2 separate regions of the Homo sapiens genome follow, and region 2 is linked to region 1. The links are contacts of gene promoters, found by promoter capture Hi-C in human tissues and cell types (Jung and others, 2019). All regions are on one chromosome and are shown on one strand. Each heading gives the region's core, a stretch centred on a gene start or on the middle of the fragment in contact. The rest is flanking DNA. Distances are from core to core; before and after follow the strand shown.

What was found. Contacts are between HindIII fragments. The study calls those that stand out against the background at their distance.
Region 2: a contact is called between a fragment that was not itself captured here and the fragment with the promoter of ASPHD2 in region 1, in 1 of the 25 tissues and cell types used here (H1 embryonic stem cells).

Annotation. Positions count from the first base shown.
Region 1 is chr22:26,424,617-26,430,844 of GRCh38, forward strand. ASPHD2 (aspartate beta-hydroxylase domain containing 2) reads left to right here and starts at 4,644. Exons shown (of 4, transcript NM_020437.5): 1 at 4,644-4,870. RefSeq lists silencers at 4,485-4,614, 4,735-4,794. The HindIII fragment of the contact is 9,826 bases long and covers 1-6,228 here.
Region 2 is chr22:26,376,937-26,383,164 of GRCh38, forward strand. It overlaps SEZ6L (seizure related 6 homolog like), which reads left to right. Exons shown (of 17, transcript NM_021115.5): 16 at 737-839; 17 at 3,330-6,228. The coding sequence ends at 3,359. Among named protein-coding and RNA genes, the nearest start is that of ASPHD2, 49 kb to the right of the region's middle. RefSeq lists an enhancer at 567-861. The HindIII fragment of the contact is 9,503 bases long and covers 1-6,228 here.

The DNA of each region.
Region 1 (6,228 bases), core at 3,394-5,893:
TGTCATTCTTCTCCTTTACTTTGTTAACAGAATGAATTCTATTAAAATACTTTCTGATGTTGAACAATTCTACATTCTTGAAAAATAATATTTAATGTGAATAAAATTTTTCTTTTATTTAAATTTTTTTGAGACAAGCTCTCATTATGTTGTCCAGGGTGGTCTTGAAATCCTGGTCTCAAATAATCCTCCCACCTCAGCCTCCCAAGTAGCTGAGATTACAGGTGTGAGCCACCATGCCCGGCTTTAAAAACCATTTTAATATCACAAATAACATACTAATACTTATTTGTTAAAAGTGAAACTTACTTTTTAAAAGTTAAAAGTTAAGCTATTTCCAAATATTTGCAAATGCAAAGCGTATTCCTGAAAAGATGAATAAGAAATTTGTTATAATGGCTGTCTTCACTAAAGAAAACCAACTGGTTGAGGGATAGGAGAGTGACGCGGTCCCAGTAACTTTCTGCATGTTGTTCCGGAGTATTTAAACACCTTTGAAAATATTAAATTAAAACATCACAAAAAATGCTGGAGTTTCCCTTGCCTACTGCTCCCAATTCCTTGTTCCTTCTTGGTCCCCCCTGAAGTTACAACTCTTAGGAATTTGGTGTGCTTCCTCTGAGGGATATTATCTGCATTTACAAACGTAATTATTTTGCATTTTATATAGGAGAACATACTAGTGTGTTCTTCTAGTGCTTTCCCTGCTTTTATATAAATACATGTGTATACCCACATGTGTACAGGTGCGTGTTATGTAGATAAAATCATACTACAATCATAATTCTGCTTTTTTTTTAATTTTCACCCTATTATTTTTCTAGGAGCTTTATCCACGTTGCTATATATACATCTAGCTCCTGCTTTTAGTAGCTTCACAGTATTACGTAATATGAAAAAACAACTAGTCTTCCATCTATCCCAGAATCCCTCTAGGTTAGATATAGCATAGCGAAATTGTTGGTTTCAGTGTATACATATTTGTTGTTGTTTTAAGGAATACTACCAAACTGCTCTCCAAAGTGATCATACCAGTTTCTTTAATGCACCAAGCAAGCACATCTCCCTCCCTCCCTCCCTTCTTTCTTTCCTTCCTTCCTTTCCTCCTTCCCTCTCTCCCTCCCTCCCTCTCTCTTTCTTTCTTTCTTCTTTCAGAGAGTTTTGCTCTGTTACCCAGGCTGGAATGCAGTAGTGCAATCTCAGCTCACTGCAACCTCTGCCTCCTGGGTTCAAGCAATTCTCCTGCCTCAGCCTCCAGAGTAGCTGGGACTACAGGCGTGCACCACCACACCTGTAGTTAATTAATACAAAAATTAATACAAAACTTTTTGTACTTTTAGTAGAGACAGGGTTTCAACATGTTGATCAGGATGGTCTAGGACTTCTGACTTCAGGTGATCCACTGGCCTCGGCCTCCCAAAGTGCTGGGATTACAGATGTGAGCCACCACGGCTGGCCGCAAGCACATTTTCCACTGACTTGCTGCAACCTTGATTGAGCAAGGCATGTTTTCTCTCTGGGCTTCCATCTGTAGGAGGAGGGAGTTGAGTGGACCCCGTGAGTGTATGAGACGGTGTAATGATAGGTTGTGTAGTCTCGGAGTGGGTAGGATGACTGCGCTAAAGAAGGCAGCGAGAGCAGGAGGATGCAGGTGGCAGCCAAGCTGAAGGCAGGCAATTCAGATGCCCTTGGTCCTCCTCTCCGCCTCTCCATGAGCACAGTAACAATTTATCTGGAGCTCTCACCCAAAATCCCCCTCTGAAAGGCATGGATATCCTTTTCTGCAGAATTCACCTAGTAGGGTCTCCAAGGGGTTGACAGAGGCCCAGGTCATTTCCATTTATTGAGACTCCCAGCTAATTAAAAAGATGAAGAAATGGTAAGCAGGGCTAACAAAATTGCGTGTATAGTAATATTGCCATTGAACAAATAAATACTAACAAATGCAGAGCAGTGGTCTACAGATATCATATAATTGCACTGGTCAAGGACACTTATAGGATTGATAGACAATATTAATTCATAATACAGTACAGATAAGATGGTGCAGGAATGGAACACATATTTACAATATAAAAATATCTTTTTTTTTTCAAACCTGCCAGGATAATGCTGTGATAGAATGTATGACTGCCTTTGGAGAATTCTAAGTTTGAGCAACTTTCTGAATGTGAGATGAGTCAAATACCCCCCACTCCATTTTCTCCACCCCACCCAGGCTCAACCACTCTTAGGCTGACAGTGAAGACAGACATCCCATTTAATGTTTCTAAATCTGATGCCTGTGTTGATTATCCACACTTTGAGCAAATCTGTGCATATTATGGTTTCCCAATGCAAGTGTTTTGGTTTATTTTAGTAGAATAAAAGAGAAAAAACATTCTTCCTCTTTTGGAGTTGAGAAAAGGAGAGAAATGACAGAGATGAAGAAGAGTCTAAGACATGGAAGAGGTGTATTCTGGGACATGGGAGAGGTGTACTCTGGGACATGGAAGAAGTGGGTTCTGGGACATGACAAACTGGGTTCTGGAACAGGGAGGAGGTGGATTTTAGGCTATCACAGTAGAGGCAGATTCTTAGGTCAGGGACCAGGTGGATTTTGGGACAGAGATGAGAGGTGGGTTCTGGGACATGGTGGAGGTGGGCTCTGGGACAGGGAGGAGGTACATTCTGGAACAGGGTGAAGGTGGCTTCTGGAACAGGGAGGAGGTGGGTACTGGGACAGGGTGGAGGTGGGTCTTGGAACAGGGAGGAGGTGAGTTCTGGAACAGGGTGGAAGTGAGTTCTGGAACAGAGAGGGGGTGGGTCCTGGAACAGGGAGGAGGTGGGTTCTGGCACAGGGTGGAGGTGGGTCCTGGGACAGGGAGGAGGTGGGTCCTGGGACAGGGAGGAGGTGAGTTCTGGAACAGGGTGGAGGTGAGTTCTGGAACAGAGAGGGGGTGGGTCCTGGAACAGGGAGGAGGTGGGTTCTGGCACAGGGTGGAGGTGGGTCCTGGGACAGGGAGGAGGTGGGTCCTGGGACAGGGAGGAGGTGAGTTCTGGAACAGGGTGGAGGTGAGTTCTGGAACAGAGAGGGGGTGGGTCCTGGAACAGGGAGGAGGTGGGTTCTGGCACAGGGTGGAGGTGGGTCCTGGGACAGGGAGGAGGTGGGTCCTGGGACAGGGAGGAAGTGCGTTCTGGAAGAGGGAGGAGGTGCGTTCTGGAAGAGGGAGGAGGTGGGTTCTGGAAGAGGGAGGAGGTGGGTTCTAGAAGAGAGAGGAGGTGGGTTCTGTAGCAGGAAGGAGGTAGGTTCTGGCACAGGGTGAAGGTGGGTCCTGGGACAGGGAGTAGGTGGGTTCTGGAACAGGAAGGAGGTATGTTCTGGAACAGGGTGAAGGTGGCTTCTGGAATAGGGAGGAGGTGGGCTCTGGGACAGGGTGGAGGTGGGTCCTGGGACAGGGAGGAGGTGGGTCCTGGGACAGGGTGGAAGTGGGTCCTGGGACAGAAAGAAGGTAGGTTCTGGAAGAGGGAGGAGGTGGGCTCTGGAAGAGGGAGGAGGTGGGTTCTGGAAGAGGGAGGAGGTGGGTTCTGTAACAGGAAGGAGGTGAGTTCTGGCACAGGGTGGAGGTGGGTCCTGGGACAGGGAGGGAGGTGGGTTCTGGAACAGGAAGGAGGTACGTTCTGGAACAGGGTGAAGGTGGCTTCTGGAATAGGGATGAGAAATGGATTCTGGGACAGACATGAGGTGGCTTCTGGGCCATGTTAGAGATAAATTCTGGGACACAAGAGAGGTGGGTCTGGGACAGAGACAGATGGATTGTGGGCGGGCCATCCTACTCTATGCTCCCAGAACCCACCCATGCAGTTTCCCTGGCGCCCCTAACACATCCCGTAGCCACTGTTAGTCTCCCCCAGGTCTTAGCTCAAACGTCACCTCCTCCAAGCAGCCTCCTTGGGGCCTCCATTCGCAGCTCATCAGTCCCCTGGTCAGACAACCGTCCTGCCTGTACTTCCCCTCCTAAACCCTACCCGGGGGTGAGGGTCCCCTCCCGCTAGACGGTGGCTCACTGAGGGCAGGGCGGGCCTGAGCGCTCACCGCGCACGCTCAGCGCAGCTGGCAGGGACGGGGACCCAGGCTGGCCCATCATTACTGTACTGAGCGAATGAGTTTTCCATGAGACTAAGAATCTGGTTTGATTTGCGGTTCCATTCCAAGTGCCTGAGGGCCTCAGAAGTCCGTGTTGAGTCCATCAATAAAGGAAAGAAGGCGTTAGGGCGAGAGGAAGTGAGGTGGGGGGGAAGTGAAAGAGAATGAAAAGGAGGAAATGGAGACGAGGGCGACTCAGAGAGGAACAGAGAGACAGAGGGAGGGAGAACTGAGAAAGACACAGAGCGAAAAACGAAAGAGCGAAGGAAGCGACGCGAGCCTTTCTTAATGAATGACTGCACGCCCGTCGCCGCCTGCGCGCAACCTCGGGCTGGGCGGGCGCTGCGTCTCGGGGCGCACTGCCAGGACCCTCCGGAGCGGCGGCGGGCGCGGCCTCGGGTCGCCTCCCGCACTGCGAGCGCAGGTGCCGGGTGCAGGGGGGTCCCCGGCCCCGCCCCGCAGGCCCCGCCCCCCCGTACCCCCTCCCCCGGCGGCCCAGCGCGCGCGGCATTGTGGGAGTTGTGGTCTTCGCGGCCCCGCGGAGCGCAGCGCGGCGTCGGCACCGGCAGGGGCACCGGCGCGGCTTAGGCTCGGGCTCGGGCTCCGGCTCGGGCTCCCGCGGCGTGGGCTGGGCAGCAGCCAGGCGGCGGCTCCGCGGCGCCGGGCAGGGGCCGTCCGCGGGTCCGCGCCCTCGGGCGGCGGCGTCTCCTGGGTCCCGGCAGCCGTCCGCGCGCCCGGGCGCAGGTAAGCTTCGTCTCCGGGGGCTGCCGGGGCGGGAGGGCGGCGCGGCTGGGCCGACCCCAGGACAGGGGTTGGAGGCGGGAGCCCGGCAGCTGCAGGCCCACGGCCCTCCCTTACCGGCGCCGCCGCCGCCGCCGCCCCCGCCGAGGATGCTCCGGGACCCGGGCGCCCGCATCCCGGCCCGGCCGAGGCCAGTGCTCGTACGTGCTAAGCGCCGCCGCCTCGGAGCCGGGCATCACCCTCCCTAGACCTCCTCCTACTCCTCTTCCCTGCCCCATCGTGGTCCCTTCCTCCATCTCCCTTCTCCCCTGTGACCCCTCTTTCCTCACCTCCTGTCCCCTCCCCCAGCCCTCAGCATCACCCACTTCCCATATTTCACGTGGTGACCCTCCTCCCCTGTCCCACGAATTATGAGGCGCCATAAACCTCCTTCCACAATCTTGAGCTGATCGTCCACTTTTCCGGGCAACACTCACCTTTCCATCGTCCCATCCCCCTCCTCCCCTGACCTCCTGGTGGTCACCATCTGTGCTAACCCATCTTCAGCCCTCCCCTCTTTCCCACTCTCCAGGGCAGGTGGGTGCTGAGAAGCTGGCCAAGAGAGGGAAGGTCCCCAGGTCTGCACCGGGAAGGGCTGGCCCCACGGCATCTCTCTGGCTCCTGAGTGGAGAGGGTGACAGGCATCACACACCTTGCCCAGTGCTGCTCACTGGGGGGCTTCCAGGGTGACTTGGCCTCATCCTGAGGGTGAGCAGACACTCTTTGGCATTAGGCAGCCTCTGGGAATGGACATCTGAACTAGGCTGACCAGGTCAGGCCTGACACCGGCTCTCCCAGGTGTTCATGGTGTGAGAAGTTGTCTTGGATTGGACTTGCTCTCCAACTGGCCATGGATTTGGACTCAATTCCCCAGAGCCAACTGAGCTGGAAGATCTGGGGTTGCTTATTATTAAAGTGCAGAGCTGCAATGAGATGTCCCCATCCCTGATGAGGACAGAAATAACACAGATGACAATGAACAGATGTGCGAAGGAAGCTGGAAGCTACTGTGGTCACTGGGCAAGGAGCTGTCGGGGGAGAGAGTCTCTCCTCTCCCCACTGGGTAGATGGGGAGTTGTCACTAGGTAGCTGTGAGGATCAAATGTTTGAAGCAGTGCTTAATAAACTGCCAGTCACTCTGCAAATGTGTTTCTTTTATTGTCATAGTTCAGCTTTGAGCTTGTAAATCCACCTCCGGGTGCAGGGGCCTGTTGGCATATTTTGGCTAAAAGTGACTGACAGGTATGAAAAGTCCTAACTTGAGCTCTCAGTGCTATTTATGATCTCGGGAGGAGGGTCTGAAGCTGGGGTTCAGAATCTTT
Region 2 (6,228 bases), core at 2,034-4,533, 49 kb before region 1:
ATGAAGGAAATAGGTAGGTGTGGTGAGTAACAGAGAAATCACCTTTAAATAGATGGTCAGGGGCCAGGCATGGTGGTTCATCCCTATAATCCCAGCACTTTGGGAGGCCAAGGCTGGAGGATCGCGTGAGCCCAGGAGTTTGAGACCAGCTTGGGCAATGGGCAATATAGTGAGAGCTCGCCTCTTAAAAAATAAAAAAAATAAAACACTTAAAAAGTTAGCCAAGTGTGGTGGTGCACGCAGGTAGGAGAATCACTTGAGCCCAGGAGGCAGAGGTTGCAGTGAGCTGAGATGGCACCACTGCACTACAACCCGGGTGACAGAGCAAGACCCTGTCTCTAAATAAATAAATAGGTGGTCAAGGAAGGCTGATCTAAGGCAATATGGCATACAGTAGGTGCTCAATAAATGCTCATCCTTGTTCTTGTTTCCCTTTGCATTCAAGAGGGACTTGAATGACCTTCCAGGAGAAAACAAATTAAGCTCCGCCCCCTCCCTAGTAAGGAGAGATCACAAGGCTTTGGTTCTCGCTGCCTGGGTTGCAAGTTGAGAGCAATTATGATTTCTGCTTTCACCTCACTAGGATTCTCGCCTGCAAAAGGCTGTTTGCACACATCCTCGTCGTCATTCACAGAGGTGCCGCTGCTCAGGAAGTGGCACCAACTGTTCCCGTTCAATATTGTAATGTTTCTCCTAGCTGGGGAGAAGTAACTTCTCTCTCCTTTCTTTCCCCCAGATGTCGCTACTATTCCAACCTCCGCCTGCCTCTGATGTACTCCCACCCCTACAGCCAGATCACCGTGGAAACCGAGTTTGACAACCCCATTTACGAGACAGGGGTGAGTTGGTCTCTCTCGTCTCTTCCCAATTCCCTCCCTCTTTGCTCTGAATTCACCAACAATAAGACAAAACATTTCATTTCCTATTGCTCACAAGAGGCACAGCCAGTGGTCCTGTCTTATCCCCACCAAGAGCCCTAAAGAGATAAATGCTGGGAGAACCCAGCTCTCTTTGCAGGTGATTGGTGCTGAGGACGAGCCTAGGAGGCTGATTACTGTCAGCAGAACACCCACAGAAAAAAGAGGCTGCACCCAAGACCCACAGAGAGCAGACCAACGGTGGCCTGGTGGCAACGTGCTGCATTCCCACACATCCCACTGGGCTCCACCCTTTATTCAATGGCAGTGTGAAACATCCCTACACATTTGAGTATCAGGTCCTATTTTAGGTGCTAGGAACATAGTCATGAACCCCAATAGACACAGATTCCACCATTAATGAGCCTACCGTCTTGTGAATTATTATTATCAATAATAATACATGCCATCTGCTGGGCACTTTAAATGCATAATCTCCTTGAATCCTTGCAGCTCTCTGCAATAGGTTCCACAGTTATCTCTAATTGATTGATGAGGACATTGAGGTCCAGAGAGAGGAAAGAATAATTTGGCCAAAGTGGCACACAGCCAGGATGCACAGCCTGAAGCCAGGATGCAAATTCAACCTGACACTCTTAATCATGATGCTATCTTGCTTCCCTCGAACCTCTGACAATCCAATGTGCCCATGAATATTTTGATTACAACAAATAATACTTTTTAAGGACTATGAAAAAATTGAACAGGGCACTAGGAGAATGTATAATGGGGACACTTAGAGGGAGTTGGGGAAGGCATCATTGAGAAAGTGAGAGTAAAGCTGAGACATGGGAAGTGGGTAGAGCTTGGACAATGGGCTGAAGAAGATGCCAGACAGAAGGGAGAGCATGTGCAAAGGTCCAGGGCACATGCGAGGAAGCAAAAGGCTGGTTATGAGTTTGCAAAACCACCATCCTTCAAGTTCACTGTGTAATGATGTGCAGCCATCTCCCAACGTTTGGGGGGAATAAACCTGACTTGTTTCTTATCCTGCTAACCTTCCTTCACCTCCACTTCTCTGATCTCCTGTGTTAGTTATCCACTGATGTGTAACAATATTACTGCAAACTTAGGGGCCTAAATTAACAACATACATTTATTATCTCATAGTTTCTATAAGTCAGGAAGCCAGGCACAGCTTAGCCTGACCCCCTGCTTTATGGCTCACAGGCTACAAACAAGGCAGCAACTGGGCTGCAGTCTCATCTGAGGCTCAACCAGGGAAGGATCCACTTCCAAACTCACATGGTTGTTGACAGCATTCAGTTCCTTGCAGGTTGTTAGAATGAGGGCCTCAATTTCTTGCGGGCTGTCTTCTAGGGGCCACCCGCAGTTTCTTCCATGTGGGCCTCTCTATAGAGCAGCTCATGACATGGCAGCTGGCTTCTTCAGAGCCAGCAACAGAGAGAGAGTCATCTTGCAAGACAGAAGTCACAATCCTGTGTCATGCAAACATGGAAGTGACATCCTAGCACCTGTGTATTCTCCTAGTTAGAATCAAGTCACAGGCTTTACCCACCCTTAAAAGGAGGGGACCCCACAAAGGCATGAGCCCCAGAAGGTGGGGATCATGGGGACCACCTTGGGGCCTGCCCACCAAAATCCCATGTACCATGAAGCATAGATGTGATTGCATATCTGTGTTGGCTGAATGGGAGCTGGAGACTTTCATTAAAGCATGTGACAGTGTCAACTTCCAGGGCTGAGCCTTCTTCTATCTCCTTGCTCCTTGTCCCTGGAGCTTGGAATACATTACTCACACTCCATAAATATTGAAGAAATCAAACTACCCCCCATGTTGTAGTCGTTTCACATGGCAATGGTAGATCAGGGCATATGTTATTTTGCATTCTATGTAGCTTGCTTTGAAATCATGGGAAAAGGTCAGACTGAAATAAAGGAGAATTTTAGAGACTAGACATGAATGAATACTTATTAGTAGAGTGTATCAGTGACCTAGAACTATAGTAATGCTGAGTAACAAAGATCTCTGAACTCAATGGCTTAATGCAACAAGCATTCATTTGCTCATCAGTCTGTGGGACAGCGTTTTAGGCTTATTTCAGCTGGATGGTAATCCTGGCATTGGCTGGTTGATGGATGGGTGACTCAGCTCTGCTCTGTGTGTCCTTCATTTTCCTGAAGAGACTAAAGCCTACCAGGGCATGCCCTGTTCTTGGTGATGACAGATAGACAGGATGTGAGCAGAAACACACAAGCATGTTTCAAGCAGCTGTTGTACGCCATTTCCTTATAACCCATTGGCAAAAGCAAATCAGGGTCAGAGTGGGAGGGCACTGAAAAGTCACGACCAAGGGCATGGACATACAGAGGTGCAAAGAACTGCATCCCCCTATGTATATCACTCTACCACACAAGCGTTTGACAAATCCGTGCTTCTCTCTCTTGCAGGAAACCAGAGAGTATGAGGTTTCTATCTAAAGAGAGCTACACTTGAGAAGGGGACTTGTGAACTCAACCACAATCTCCTCGAGACATTCATCCAGAGACCATGTGGCACTTGATTGAAACCCCAGAATGTCGACTGTCTTTTGTTTAGACTCTTTATCAAAGGTTTACTGTTTTCTTCCCTGTATTTATTATATTTAAAAGTGAAATAGGTGTGGGTTTGGATGTTTCGCGGCCTCAGCCAAATTCATGTTACAGCCTCAATTCTGAAGGCAGGTGGAAGACTTGCAAAATGGCAAACCGCGGCAGCAAAAACACAAAACAGCAGATGGAGTTTCTCCCATCAGCAATGCCATGCTAAGGCTGCATTGAATTGCATGCATCTTTGGGAACCATGCCCATGATGTTTTCAGTACAAATCTAAGTCCCAAGATTAGGTTGGAAAGGGTATTTCTTGTTGGCTTAGTTTGGGTTGGAATTTAGCATGGGTACTTAAACCCATTTGGAGAGCTGTGCTCCTAAACAAATTCTGTGTCCTCTCTTCCCATTTTGCCAGCTTCTGAAAGGTTTTTCCACAGCCCCTCCCTCTCACGGTTCTTCTGAAGGTAGCAAAGGTGTTATATAAACATTGTCTTTTACCACTCTGGCCTCGCTGGACAGTGACAAAACAAGAAAACGTTTTCTTTCTAGAAAGGTGATAAACGACCAAAGGCAATTTTTCAGAGACAAATGAGAGATTTGAGAGTTCCAATGAAGAATTGGGTGAGGGGGATCATTGGGTAAGGGAATTGGGTTAAAATGTTCTTTTCTTTGACACTCTTTCAATGATGAAAGAGCGTGTAATTTATGCTACAAGTGCCAGAATCGATCACCATGTTCAGCAAGCCACTCTCAAGCTGTGGTAATAAACACACAGGCTTGGGAGGCACCAGCGGCCCCACTCATACAGTGACAAGGATTTGTGATGGGAAAAAGGAGGTGCCATGTTTGGAAATGCAGGGGTGAGCTCTGGTTTCTCCTGGGGTTCTGGAATATCTCAGCCCTCAAAATAGAGGAGACTCAAGTGCACTGATTCTCTAAAAGGTGTCATCTTCAGAATATACTTGCCATCAAGTATTTCAGGGGGCGGGAGGGTCCCATGAGAAGAAACTATTTTTCTATTCTCCAAAGCTGTCTGGATGTTGGAGGGTGGTGTGAATGCTGACTGAGGAGGTGCAGAGAACAGGGGCAGGGGATTTTAAATCACAGCAGACCATCCAGTGGAATCCTGTATCATCTGATCTGAACATCAATGAAGACAGAGAGAGGAATTTCATTCAGAAAGGATTCCATAGCCCCACATCTAGTCACACGGGCATTCCTCTTATTTTATCAGGGTCTGTTTTCCCCCAACCCAGTGAAACCGGTGAGTGTGTAACTCTTGGGAAGATTCTTTTCTAAATACAGGTATAAAGAGAAGGTGGAGGGTGCGGGTGCATGGAAGAAATACTATGTGTGAAGCAGATTCACCTTCCTGGGACCGGTGACATGGTGGTGACAGTCAATGGCTTGGACAGACAGACGGGCACAGTGGCATTTGGAACCCTCTTTGGTGCCCTCCCATTCTCTCTGGAATTGTTTCAAGTCTGCTGGTTTTCAAACAAGAAAAGACCTTTCTGGCCATAGGGAGAATAGCAGGGAGTCTATGTTTTGGTGGTTACATTGGAAACATCTTAAGCAAGATAGGGAAAGTTGATTTTAGGCACACATGTACCCTCCTTGACAGCAGGAACTCAGACTTCAATCTTGGGGGTCTAAGACCAGAATATTTTCCTTCTGCCAGAAAAGAATCTTGCACATATACTCCTGAAGGCATGAGTGTGTGGTCCATGGCAAGAAATAGCTAAAGGCTGCTTTCCAGGACCCAAAGCCCCATTTAATGCAAGAACCAGAGAAGTGTTCTAGGCCATTAGTGGACAATGTCATGTTTGGAGAAAGATAACAACACAAATAATGTAACCTTTCCTTAAAAGGCAGAACTCAATCCATTTTATTTGATGCTTATTCTAACCCTAACCCTGGGTCACCTGGAATGAAGAACTCTATGAATAATATTTGATTTTACAACGTGTTATGGTTATGTGAAAACTAAACATTTGCCTTTTATAAAGACTGACAAAATATAAATCTTTATTCTAACCCTATCCCCAAAACTAGCCAGGCCACACCCCAGATGTTCTTATTGACTATTGGAAAGATAGAAAAGGCGTTGTGTTTTTTGTTTTTTTGTTGTTGTTGTCATTGTTGTTTTTTTCAGAAGACCAGTGTCTCAGTTCTGTCTTAGTAGTACCACACCCGTAACCGTGTTTTAAAAGTTTGTTTTAGCCTAGAGACAGATCATACGAGTTCAACAATGTACAGTGTGATTGAAAAGACAGGTTGGTGTCTATTTTTCTTTTTAAAATATCTGAATGTGTATTTGTAATACGTAAAGGTAAAAAAAAATAGTGCCAAAAATGTGCAAGGCATCTCATTACAGCTCATGTACGTCTGTTTTTATAAGATCAATATTAAAACCCATTGGGATTAAATATTTTTGAATAGGATACACTCTTGAGAAACTCGAGAATGGACTGAGCCTTCCTACAAGCCACTCTTTGTTTTTAAAACAGTGGGGAAATACGTTTACAGAGATTGTGAGCTTCAGAGAATGCATGTGATGGTGTGTATTACATGCTAATTCATATAAGCTGTATCTGTCAGCTACCACCCTGTGCTTTAAAAATGCACACACTCAACCCTCTTTAGCTTGGAGCTCAGCTTTTTGCTTTTTTTTTTTTTTTTTTGTAGAATTATTTAGCTAACATAAGTATTCTGATTGCTACCTGATGGCCATTCTTACTTAGTTTCATAGATGTGCTTT